Linked DNA regions of Homo sapiens: region 1 is linked to region 2. Evidence: promoter capture Hi-C in human tissues and cell types (Jung and others, 2019). All regions are on one chromosome and are shown on one strand. The core of a region is centred on a gene start or on the middle of the fragment in contact, and the rest is flanking DNA. Distances in the headings are between cores, read along the strand shown. Region 1 overlaps DNAAF9 (dynein axonemal assembly factor 9). Region 2 holds the start of SLC4A11 (solute carrier family 4 member 11).

The links. The method cuts DNA at HindIII sites, captures the fragments that hold promoters and counts their contacts. A contact is called where the count stands out against the background at its distance.
Region 1: a contact is called between a fragment that was not itself captured here and the fragment with the promoter of SLC4A11 in region 2, in 3 of the 25 tissues and cell types used here (adrenal gland, bladder and hippocampus).

What each region holds. Positions count from the first base shown.
Region 1 is chr20:3,315,063-3,320,946 of GRCh38, reverse strand. It overlaps DNAAF9 (dynein axonemal assembly factor 9), which reads left to right. Exons shown (of 37, transcript NM_001009984.3): 17 at 2,547-2,658; 18 at 4,154-4,224; 19 at 5,162-5,212; 20 at 5,827-5,884. Among named protein-coding and RNA genes, the nearest start is that of SLC4A11, 79 kb to the right of the region's middle. The HindIII fragment of the contact is 6,892 bases long and covers 866-5,884 here.
Region 2 is chr20:3,235,796-3,241,265 of GRCh38, reverse strand. It overlaps SLC4A11 (solute carrier family 4 member 11), which reads left to right and starts at 2,076. Exons shown (of 20, transcript NM_001174089.2): 1 at 2,076-2,171; 2 at 3,678-3,722. The coding sequence starts at 2,129. RefSeq lists silencers at 1,827-1,986, 2,087-2,266. The HindIII fragment of the contact is 33,876 bases long and covers 1-5,470 here.

The DNA.
Region 1 (5,884 bases), core at 3,062-5,561, 77 kb before region 2:
TAGTACATATCTAGCCAAGATTCTGTTTGTGGTGTGTGTTATATCTTGAGTCTGTTCTGTGACCACTGCCTGAGCCTTAGTTTGAAAAAGCTTTGGTCCCAGGGAACTGGGTGAGCAGCACCCAGTGGATAATTTGGTACAAGCGCATCCCCATCACCATCACCTGTGGAAAAGTAACTCAAAAGTTCCTGTCAGTAGTGTTAACCTATCTACAGAGAATAGCACAACAAGGGTAATTTTTTTAAGGTTGTAATTTATGTTTTTATAATGTTCCTGGTCCCCATCTGTCAACATTTTGTGTGGATGTTCTTTTAGAACTAGTTTAGACTTTTTTGTGATATCATTAAAACATTGGGAAATACTTTCTGATATTTAGGTGATAATACTTTATCTCCTTGTTAGACTTTAAATCCCTGACTTCTCTCCTTAGACTCTTGAGCAGTGCTTTGGAAGATGCTTTGCATAGTAGCAGGTGATTAGGAATCCAGTAAAATCATAGTCTTGCGTCAAGTATGCACAGCTAATGAGATAGGAAATAAGAGGCAGGAAGTTGATGCTTTTTGTCTACATTCTGTCCTCTTATCCAGAGATGAAGTTCTATATCCTCCCCAAAGCCTTCCCTGTTGATTTCTCCCTACAAGTATTCCTATAGTCCTTGCAGTTGCAGTTTGTACTACACAAATTAAGAAATAATTATATCCTAATGTGTCATATGATATCATAATGTGTCATATGATGACCTTCATATAAGAATGCCCTTGTTTCTCCAGCTATACATTATAGATTTCCTGAAGACAGGCACCATGCTGTATTTTTTCTTTCCCCGTGCCACATGGTGGGAAGTACATAACAAGTGTCCAACAAATGCTACATGTTATCTTTTTAATATCCTCTCTTCCCTTCCTCAATACCAGTGGCCAAATATGAACATGAAGGATCAGGAACCCCCAGGATCTGTCCACCTGATTGGTCTGGGAACCAAAGACATAGGATTGCCATTGTCACTTAAGAGGGACCATGTAGCTCAGGAGGGTTCTGTGTCTTCAGATGCTCGAAATCCTTTGAGACAGCTTTAGATAAACCTTCCAGTTGTCAAACCTGAAAGGAAAGTTAATTCAAATATAGACGCCTACTTGTCTCTTTTGTATATCCTATTATCATAATAATATGGAAAATTAAGGGCTTTGGCCTTAACTGTGGTTTTTTTCCTTTCAACCTTGTGGCCTCTTTAAGTTTTTATTTGAAAATTCAGCAATCCGTTCAAGAGCCTCAGATCTTTTGTCTCTGTCCTAAGGGGTGGGACAGGCGTCCCAGGCTAGGACGACAATATGTGAAAGTGGACTTAGGAGATCTGCACCAGCACCCACCGCTCACTACTATTCAGGGTAGGAGGGGACAGGTCCTTGTGCTACTTATCCCATGTCCCTCATCAGATCTTCCTGGTCATCACAGACTCTAGCTCTAGCTAACATCATTTTCTCTTTCTTCTGCTGGCTTCTTCCCGGAATTGTTTCATTTTCACTAGTTTTTACCTAATAAATTAGGGCTTTCTTACCAGACATTTGGGAGCTCTCTGAGTTGTTCTAATTTTGTTTCCAGGCTACTGAAGCCTCAGCTTTTATTTGTCTTGGCCATAAAAGCTTGATAGCTTTCTTGCTTTTTTTTTTTTTTTTTTTTTTTTTTTGAGACGGGGTCTCGGTCCGTTGCCCAGGCTGGAGTGCAGTGGCATGATCATAGATCACTGCAGCCTCAACCTCCTGGGCTCAAACAATCCTCCTGCCTTAGCCTCCTGAATAACAGAGACCACAGGCAGACGCCACCATGCCTGGCTATTTTTTTTTCTTTTTTTTTTTTTTTTTTTTTTGAGACAGAGTCTTGCTCTGTTGCCCAGGCTGGAGTTCAGTGGCGCGATCTCAGCTCACTGCAGCCTCCACCTCCCAGGTTCAAGCAATTCTCCTGCCTCAGCCTCCCAAGTAGCTGGGATTACAGGCACACGCCACCATGCCTGGCTAATTTTTTTTTGTATTTTTAGTAGAGATGGGGTTTCACCATGTTGCCCAGGCTAGTCTCAAACTCCTGGGCTCAAGTGATCCACCCGCCTCAACCTCCCAAAGTGTTGGGATTATGGGCATGAGTCATTATGCCTAGCCTAATTTTTTCTTTAGTAGAGTGGGGATCTCACTGTGTTGTTCAGGGTGGTCTCAAACTCCTGGGTTCCTTGACCTCCCAAATTACTGGGATTACAGGCATGAGCCACTGTGCCTAGTCAGCATAAAGCAATTTGAGGGAATATACGGAAACATAAGGATACTTTCCTTATAGCCCAAGGGTGTCTCTGATCAGGGAGCAATTTCAGGGAAGCCTGGGTGATCCTAAAGTCACCTCCCAGTTCAAAGATGTATTTAGGATAACTCCAGTTTTCCCTAGAAACTCTTCAGTACTCTTTTGCCATGTTCCTTTAGGCAGTATTTGTGGTCTCATTCTTATGGACTTCTCTGAAAGTTTTGGGCTGGTAACTGATCTAACTGGTTTCTCATTCAATGCAGGCTTGTATGGCCGTCTATGACATTCCTGACTTACTGGGAGGCAATGGTTGTTTAGGATCTGTGGTTTTCTCTGAATCATTTTTGACTTCTCAGATCTTAGTTAAAGAAAAGGGTAAGTATATGTGATCTTTAGAAAGCAAACCTTAAGCCTTTTTTTTTTTTTTTTGGCAAAATAAACTATAAACTAAGGCAAAAGGCCAACAATAAACTGGTAAAAATATTAGAACTGATGATCACAGCACTGCACTCCAGCCTCAGTGACACAGTGAGACCCCGTATCAAAAAAAAAAAAAAAAGAGAAACATTAAAGATGAACAAAGGGTGTATAACCTAATTTATGAAGAACTCTTCCAAAATTAATAAGAAAAGATAAGCTACCCAATAGTAAAATGAGCAAAAAAAATGAACAGGCACTTCACAGACGTGGAAAACAAAAAAGAGAGGAGGACTATTTATAAATGAAGATATGTAATCTCACTAGTAGTCAAGAAGAAGCAACTTGAAGGCTGGGCGTGGTGGTTCATGCCTGTAATCCCAGCACTTTGGGAGCCCAAGGTGGGCGAATCACTTGAGGTCAGGAGTTTGAGACCAGCCTGGCCAACATGGTGAAACCCCATCTCTACTAAAAATACAAAAATTAGCCGGGCATGGTGGTGGGTGCCTGTAATCCCAATTACTCGGGAAGCTGAGGCAGGAGAATCACTTGAACCTAGGAGGCGGAGGTTGCATTGAGCTGAGGTCGCACCACTGCACTCCAGCCTGGGTGACAGAGTGAGACTCTGTCTCAAAAAAAAGCAATTTGAAACAGTAATTAGATATTATTTTTTTACCTGTTAGGTTGGCAAAATATTCTAAAGATTTATTATATTCTAAGGAATGAAAATATTCTAAAGAATGGTAGAATGAGCCTGATAATTCTCTTTGATCTTTAATATGTATACCTATACTACCTTGATAAAAATTAAAAAGTAGTGGTAAAATGGACTAATTCCCAAAAGTTTTGTTTCTTGGTTTTGGGGTTTTTTTTTTTTTTTTTTTTTGAGACAAGGTCTTGCTCTGTCACCCAGGCTGGAGTGTGGTGGCATAATCTCGGTTCACTGCAACCTCCACCTCCTGGGCTCAAGCGATTTTCCCACCTCAGCCTCCCAAGTAGCAGGGACCACAGATGCGCCACCACACCTGGCTAATTTTTCATATTTTTTGTAGAGACGGGGTTTTGCCATGTTGCCTGCAATCCCAACACTTTGGGAGGCTGGGGCTGGCAGATCACCTGAGGTCAGGAATTTGAGACCAGCCTAGCTAGCATGACAAAATTCCATCTCTACTAAAAATACAAAAATTAGCCCGGCATGGTGGCACGCATCTGTAATCCCAGCTATTCGGGAGGATGAGTCAAGAGAGTTGCTTGAACTTGCTAGGCAGAGGTTGCAGTGAGCCGAGATGGCGCCACTGCACTCCAGCCTGGGTGACAGAACAAGATTCTGTCTCAAAAAAAAAAAAAAAAAAAAAAGAACCCTAGCTCCTGAGAAGGGCATTTAGGGTCTGGGGCCTGCAAGGCAGGCTGAGCTGGTAGGGAATTAACTGGCATGTGTGTGGTGTTCCTGCAGATGGCACTGTTACCACAGAAACCAGCTCCGTAGTCCTGACTGCTGCTGTACCCAGATTCTGCTCCTGGCTGGTTAGTGTCATTCATCAGGTGGAAGTGGACCTACGTGTGGAGAAATCAGGGTGAACACTTGAGGAAGAGCCTCTTTGTTGGGCCCCTGGTGGGATGTCAGGTCCTGAACTAGCTGTTGTTCAGGAATGGAATTTTTGATCCCAGCCCTTTCTCTTTATACAAATGAACATAGTTCCGTTAACTCTCATAATCTTAGAAAAGTTTCAAAAGAAAGGAACAAAGTTACGTGGGTCACTGTTAAATTAGGAAAGGAAGAAATTAAGAGCCTCATTTTACAAATGAGGAAACTGAGCTTAGGAGTTGAACGGCCCGGCCAAGGTCACACAAATCATGAGAAGTGGATCCCGTGACTTGCTTCCCTGGTAGAGTGGTTGCTACGGAGTTTTTACTGCAACATCTCTCTGCTAGTAGAAAAGTCCCATCTTCCGCAGTGGGAGGGACTTGGTCTGAAACTGGGGCCTTGGAATGTAAAAGGTGTGACAGCAGTTAGTCTGCTAATGGGCTGAGTCCCTTCTTGAGAGTGCTCACATTCTGCTTCTACAGTTCCCACACAGACAGGGAAGACCGAGAGTTATCCTCTAACCTAAACGTGTTTAAATCTGAAAATATTTTAATACATTATCTTTGCTTCATCCCTAAAAACAGTTGTTTTTTTCTGAAGTGAAATACAGGTGGAGACTAACACATCCCCTCTGCTTGTCATAAGCTCATTAGCTGGACCTCAGGTCCTAGTGAGAGAGCCCACCAAGGCCTTGGGCTCTGAGCCCAGGTGACCAGCAGACATCTCAGGTGTGTCAGGGCCTGAGAGCACTGGACATGGACATGGTGGAAGGACTGTCCAGCCAGTGTCCTGGAAATATTTGAACACAGTGGGGAGACCTAGCAGGGTTTTCCCTTGAAGTAGTTGACTGAAAATCTGCATTCCTTTTGGACACAGGTGGAAGATAATGAAGTAAAATTGTCTGAGAAAACCCAGCAAGCAGTGAGGGTAAGCAGCCTTCTTATTCTCAGTGTGAACATTATATCAAAAAATAATGTAAGCAATTCATAAAGGTATTAAAATGCTTCATCTCACTACTAATCTAAAAGACTTGCACTATGTTGTCTTCACTTCCTATTTGCATTCCTCCCCTTCCCAGCAGAGCTTTAGAAATAACCATTTATGGGGGATACAATTAGAGGGATTCTTTATTCCATCAGGGCCTTCTGGTGTTCTTTTAAAAATCTCCCCATAATATTAAAAGCAGATCCCAGATTGGCCTAGACATGTAGAGCTGAGACATCAAGGCTTTAGGCCAAGGAGAAGCTGCCTCTGTTTTCACAAAGGAAATAAATCCACTGGAACATGAACAAGCATTGCGGGCTTTGATGCCTGGACTCAGAGAGAATCTTAATGTTCTTTTTCTCAGCACAAATCAAGGATGCCAGTAACTGCCAAAGAGCCAGACAATGCCAAAGGCCATGGAATACATTGGGCATATCTGAGCCTGACTCAGCTTTTGTAGACGGACATAATTGGGCAGGACTTTTGATTCTGTGAATATTTATGCTATAAATCACCTATTCTTTTTTGGATTTTTGTTTTTGTTGTTGTTTTTAAAGGGGGATGAGTCTTTCCTGGGCACTTATCTAACAGGAGGAGAAGGAGCATATCTTTATT
Region 2 (5,470 bases), core at 827-3,326:
AGGGAAAGTGGGTGCCTGCGTCTGGGTCCCTCAACCTGCCTGCCTATGTAAGGACCCAGTGGGGCACAGGACAGGAGATCTGGGGCACCAGTATTTGCCTTCAGCGTCAGACGATCTACACAGGACAGGAGGCAGGTGGGAGGACTGAAGGAAACAGCCTCTGAAACGGTCAGTCTGGAGGCAGCAGGCGTGTGGGCCTCAGGGGTTCCCTCCAGGAAGGCCGAGGGAACAGAACCGCAGGGGCAGAGCACAGGTGTAGCAGAGAAGGGCTCAGTGCCAGTTCCTTTGAGAGACGGTCAGGGAGCGGACAGAGGGGGCCCATAGCCGACTAGGGGCGGCTTGGTCATGGGCTCCTCTTTCCTCAGTGGGCTGAGGGGTTAGGTCCTTTGAGGAGCGCTGAGGAGACTGTGGTAAGGGGAAGCGCCCTCCATCCCAGAGGCTTTCCTGGAACAAGTGGGTTGGAAGGACCAGGTGTTTGGGAGCTGCTGGGAGCAGGTGCAGAAGCCAAGGCATTCCCAGATGGGGGAGACTGGGGGTGGCAAGGTGGCTTTTCAGGGATCCAGCCTGCATGCCACCTATGCAGCCATGCTCCGGGGGCGACATCCGCCTGTGTCCTTCAGCTCTTCCTCAGCCTCCACCCGCCACCCGGGAGTCAGTGCCTGGACTGGAGCTCTAGCTGGAGGGCGTCTAGGAAAGGTCCCAAGGGGTGCGCAGGATGACCTGGTGTCTCTCCAGAGTCACCCCTGCTAAAATACTATGTGGCCAGCCCCAAGTCAGTTGCAGGTCATGGTGTTGGGATCTTCCACAAGGCCTCCTGGAGTCGCGCTGGGGGAGGGTGGGGTACTCAGTCTGTCGCAGAGCCCCAGGCCATCCGTCGCCAAGAGGAGCACTCCAGCGCTTCCCTCCTAATGCGTTCTTATCTTGCCGGGAGGAGAACTGGGCCAGCCTTACTCACCCAATCTATGCATGAGGCTTCCCCAACGCGCCAGAAGCCCTTCCTTCGCAGAGGTGGGCTTGCCCCGGCCTGTCCCCGTTCCTCTACCATGGTTAGGGCACAGTGGCCGAGGACTCCGTCCCAGCGCGGCTGAGCCGGAAAGCGATGGCGGCCGGAGGGGTCGGGAGGTTGGTTAGCGCTTTACGGAGCTGCGTGTTCCGTTTCCAAGGGCTGTAGAGCCTTCTACTGGGAGCCACCGTGGATCAGGCCAGGGGTTCGTCAGCTGCATTTGCCGGATCGCATCGCAGCACGCGCACCCACACGCGCACACGCCCTACTCGCAGGAGACTAAGCGCCCCGAAAAGGCGCGTCCCCGGGCGGGTCGCAGCCGGTCCAGGAAAGGGGACAGGGCGCAAGGGCCATTTGGGGAAGGAAAAAGGGGGCGAACCATGACCTTGACCTCATAGAAGGCCGAGGACGTGAAGAGGCTGGCAGATAAGTTGGCGAGGCTCGCAGCGAAAACCCAAAGCAGCCGAGCTCGGAGAGCGCCGTCTCAGCGGGCGAGGGCGTAGCCCGGGGAATGCACGGAGGTCCGTCTAGTCAGTCGGGGCGCGCTTCCTGGAGGAGGAGGAGAAGGACTTGCGGCCGGAGCTACCGGGATAAATGCAGGAGGCGGGGCAGCCAGCGGGCGTGGCCCTGCGGAGGTCCCCGGTCGAAAGGAGGAGACAGGGGCCGGCCGCGTACTTAAAGCGGACGCGGGGGAAGCCCTCCCGGGGTCTGCCTCAGTCGCACAGCTCGGTGGGCTCGTGGCGCAGTCGAACGTTTTCCCAGAAGCTCCCCGGCCCCGTCCAGCCCCTAAACTCGCGACGCTGGGTCTGCTGGGTCCGGCGCGCACAGGCTCGAAGGAGCCGGGTCTACTCGGTTTGGCCCAGCAGCTGCGGGCGGCGGGGAGCAGCCCAGCCCGGCTGGAGCAGCCTCCCGCGGGTGAGGGCGCGGGGCGGGCGGCCGGGTCCCAGCCCTCGGCAGCTCTGCCTACCGCGCCCGGGCGCGGCGTCTGAGCGGCATTAGGACCCAGGCGCGGCGTGGGGGTGTGTCGCCGGCTCCCGCCGCCGGCCCGCCCGAGTCGCCGAGTTTGGGGTCCAGAAGCGCCGGAGCGCCGCGTGAGGAGCCCGGCCGTGAGTGCGCGAGTGTGCCATGGCCGCGGCCACCAGGCGCGTGTTCCATCTGCAGCCGTGCGGTGGGTGCCTGAACCCGGGGGCGCGGCGGGAAGGCCGCCCGGGTCTCCGCCACCGTCTCCCGTCGGGGACCCCGGGGAGAACGCGGATGCCGTCTGCCTGCGCGGGCCGGGGCCGGTGGGCGAGAGGGCTGCGGGATTCCCAGCCGCGGGGAGGAGGGCGCGGGTGCGGGAGGCCCGGGCGCGGCTTCGCGGCCACCGCGCGCTTGGTTTCATTAGGGCTCTGCTGTCGCCGTCTTGAATTTCTTACCAGGTTTGAACAGCTGATGCAGCGGGTCGAGGGCGGGGAGCTCGAAAGTGGGCAGGGCGGAGCTGTGGGGCTCCCAGCGCCCCGAGCGCCGAGCTTTTGGGAGCCTGGCGGGCCGCCGCCTCGGAAGGTCTCATTTTACCTTCCGCCCGGGCATCTTCCCGTCCGGCGCCGCGGTGGGAGCCCCGGAACCCCTGGAGTTTTGGGAGTCCCGGGACCCCTGACCGTGCCCTGCGCGGCCGCAGCGGTTTCTCCCTTGCTCTGACACGGGAGGGCCAGCCCTGGGTCCCCGCCAGGACCCAGGTTTGTACGACCCTTTACCTGCACGTGGGCCGCCGGGACGGAAGCGGAGTGTGCACCGGCCCAACCCTCCCAGACCCTCGTCGCCCACGGCCTGGGACGCGCCCCAGCGCCCCCGCCCCCCACTTCAGGATGCAGCCCCGGCTCCCGCCCCGCGCCTGCATTCACATCCTGCGCCCCGACCCCCGGGGTCTCCGAGTCTGGAGGCGCTTTCCTCTCGTGCACGCGGCCCCTCCTGTCGCTTCCTTCCTCCGACAGCGAGGCACAAACAGCCGGGACCATCCGGGGACCGGCCCAGGGAGGGCGCAGCCTCCCCCGACCCATGTGTCCCTCAGATACTCCTCCCACCCCCAATTGTTCTCCCTTTTGGACCAACGGCTCTGGCTTCCAGGCGGCCGGGACGCGGTCCCAGGACTGGAGACCGTTGCCTGTCGGCCCCCGTGTGACCCGGGGCGCGTGACGGGGGTCGGGGGAACTGCGCCTGCAATGGGCGTTTATGGCCCCCAGGACCGGTCTGAGAGTGAGAAGAGGGATGTGCAGAGAGATCCCCCGCCTTGGCATCCGAGGAGAGAGGGGGAGAGGCCCGCTCGGGCCCGGTCCCTTCCTCTCGCTGCAGCGGGGCAGGGTTTTCTCAGGAAAACCTGGATTAGCGAACATGGTACTGGTACTAACTCGGTGGGAAGACATCCCTGGAACGTCTCTCCTCCTCGCCTCTGGCCCGCCTGGGCAGCCCCTAGCAGATGGGCTAAGCAATTGAATTTCTGAGATTAAGGCTGGCTTCCCCTGCTATGGGGCCCCCTCCCGAGCACTGTCCCCTGCTTCCCTTTCTCCCTAGGGTGGCGTGGGTTGCATCCCTCGGAAGAGCGAAGGAATGAGCCAGGTCGGGGGGCGGGGAGACAGGTGCACACAGGAGGTCCAGGGCTTGGTCCATGGGGCTGGTGACCTTTCTGCTTCCCTTGCAGAAAACTCTCCCACCATGTCGCAGAATGGATACTTCGAGGATTCAAGTGAGTACCTCTCGGGGAGTGTGTGTGTGCAGAGAGAGCTTGTCGGGCAAAAGCCTCCAGGGTGCATAGCCTACCCACCAGAGTCCTGTGGCTTTGCTCGCCTATCTGGGCCACTCTAGTGCTGGAATGCTTTTGGCTTCCACTCTTCGGGAAGCTAGACATGGGCGGATCCCCCGTGGACCTGAGAGGGCAGGCTGCCCATTCTCCTGGGCTACTTGGACCAGGTGAACCCTCTGGGATTCTTACCCAAGGTTTTCTGTGACAATGGCCTGTTATCTGACTAGCCTTGGGCCAAGAATTCTGTGTGCCCCTGTCCCTCTGTCCTCACCCAGCCCTGGAGGGAATATCTGTCGTTGTCTCTTTAAAGAAATATAAGGCCTCTGTGCTGCAGTCCCTCGGGCACCTTCCTGCTGTCCCTGCTTGTACCAGTCCAGCTGTCTTCCTCCTCATGTCTCTGGGCTGGCTTCAGGCTGTGTCCTGTGCCTAGCCCCATGAGTGACCTGACCATTCGAGGGTTGTTTGTAGAGCAGTGCGTAGACACAGGGCTGATGTTCCCTTACCCAGAGCCCTCAGGACATGGGGCTCTGTGTGCTAGGCTGCTGGTGGGCAGGTTACGTATGGGGCTGGGACTAGGACTTGGCATTGCAGGAGCCCCCCAGGAACCTGGTAGTGTCAGCTGGGCAGGTCCTTAATCTAGGGGACCTGAGCACTAAGTCTAAGGTAGAGCTGAGGGCATCAGGGGAAGAATGGGGGAAGAACGGGGCTGTGTGAAGGGCAGTGGAGGGGACTAGTGGGTGCTGGTTGAGGGGCAGAGGGGAGGCTGGGACAAGTTCGGGCCAGGGGAACCAGACAGTTTAAACAAGGCAAGCCTGACCCGGGGAGGAAGGAGTTTATCATGAGCTCCAGAACCAAAGCAGTGAGGACGTCTTTTGTTTTGTTTTGTTTTGTTTTGTTTTGTTTTGAGTCTCGCTCTGTCGCCCAGGCTGGAGTGCAGTGGTGTGATCTCGGCTCACTGCAAGCTCTGCCTCCTGGGTTCACACCAGCCTCCTGCCTCAGCCTCCCGAGTAGCTGGGACTACAGGCGCCCGCCACCACACCCGGCTAATTTCTTTTTGTATTTTTAGTAGAGACAGGGTTTCACCATGTTAGCCATTGTTAGCCAGGATGGTCTCGATCTCCTGACCTCGTGATCCGCCTGCCTTGGCCTCCCAAAGGCAAGGATGTCTTTTGACCTAATATTTCTTCTCTGGGCTCTGGAGGTAGTGCAGGCCTGGGCCTGGGAGTCACCAGTCCCTGGGGACTTTGATGCAGGAGGCACTAGGGCTTCCTACCCAGAAGGGGCCCAGGCTAAACTCAGGACACTGGGGGAACAGGGCCTGGGATGTGCCAAGGAAACTGGCGGCGGGAGTAGAAGTGAGTCAGGGTGAGTCACTCCCTGGCAGGTGCAGGCGTGCTGCTGACCCATCCTTGTTTCTGCACAGGTGTCTGTCAGGCATCAGTGGGGTCTGGGCTATAAGGGCCCCTTTCCTGGGAGTACCTACAAGTGAGGAACCTTAGGGGACCCACAAGACAGGAAGGGCTGCCAGTGGCCAGGGGTGAGGCAGGGATCTAGGAGGACTTCCTGGAGGAGGAGGTTCCAAGTGAGTCTTGAAAAAGGCCCTCCAGGGAGGGAAGCCCTCAGCTTGGAGGACAGGACCTTGCATGCCTAGGGTGCTGACCGGATGGCCTGAGGAGCCAGTGGTCAGGGCA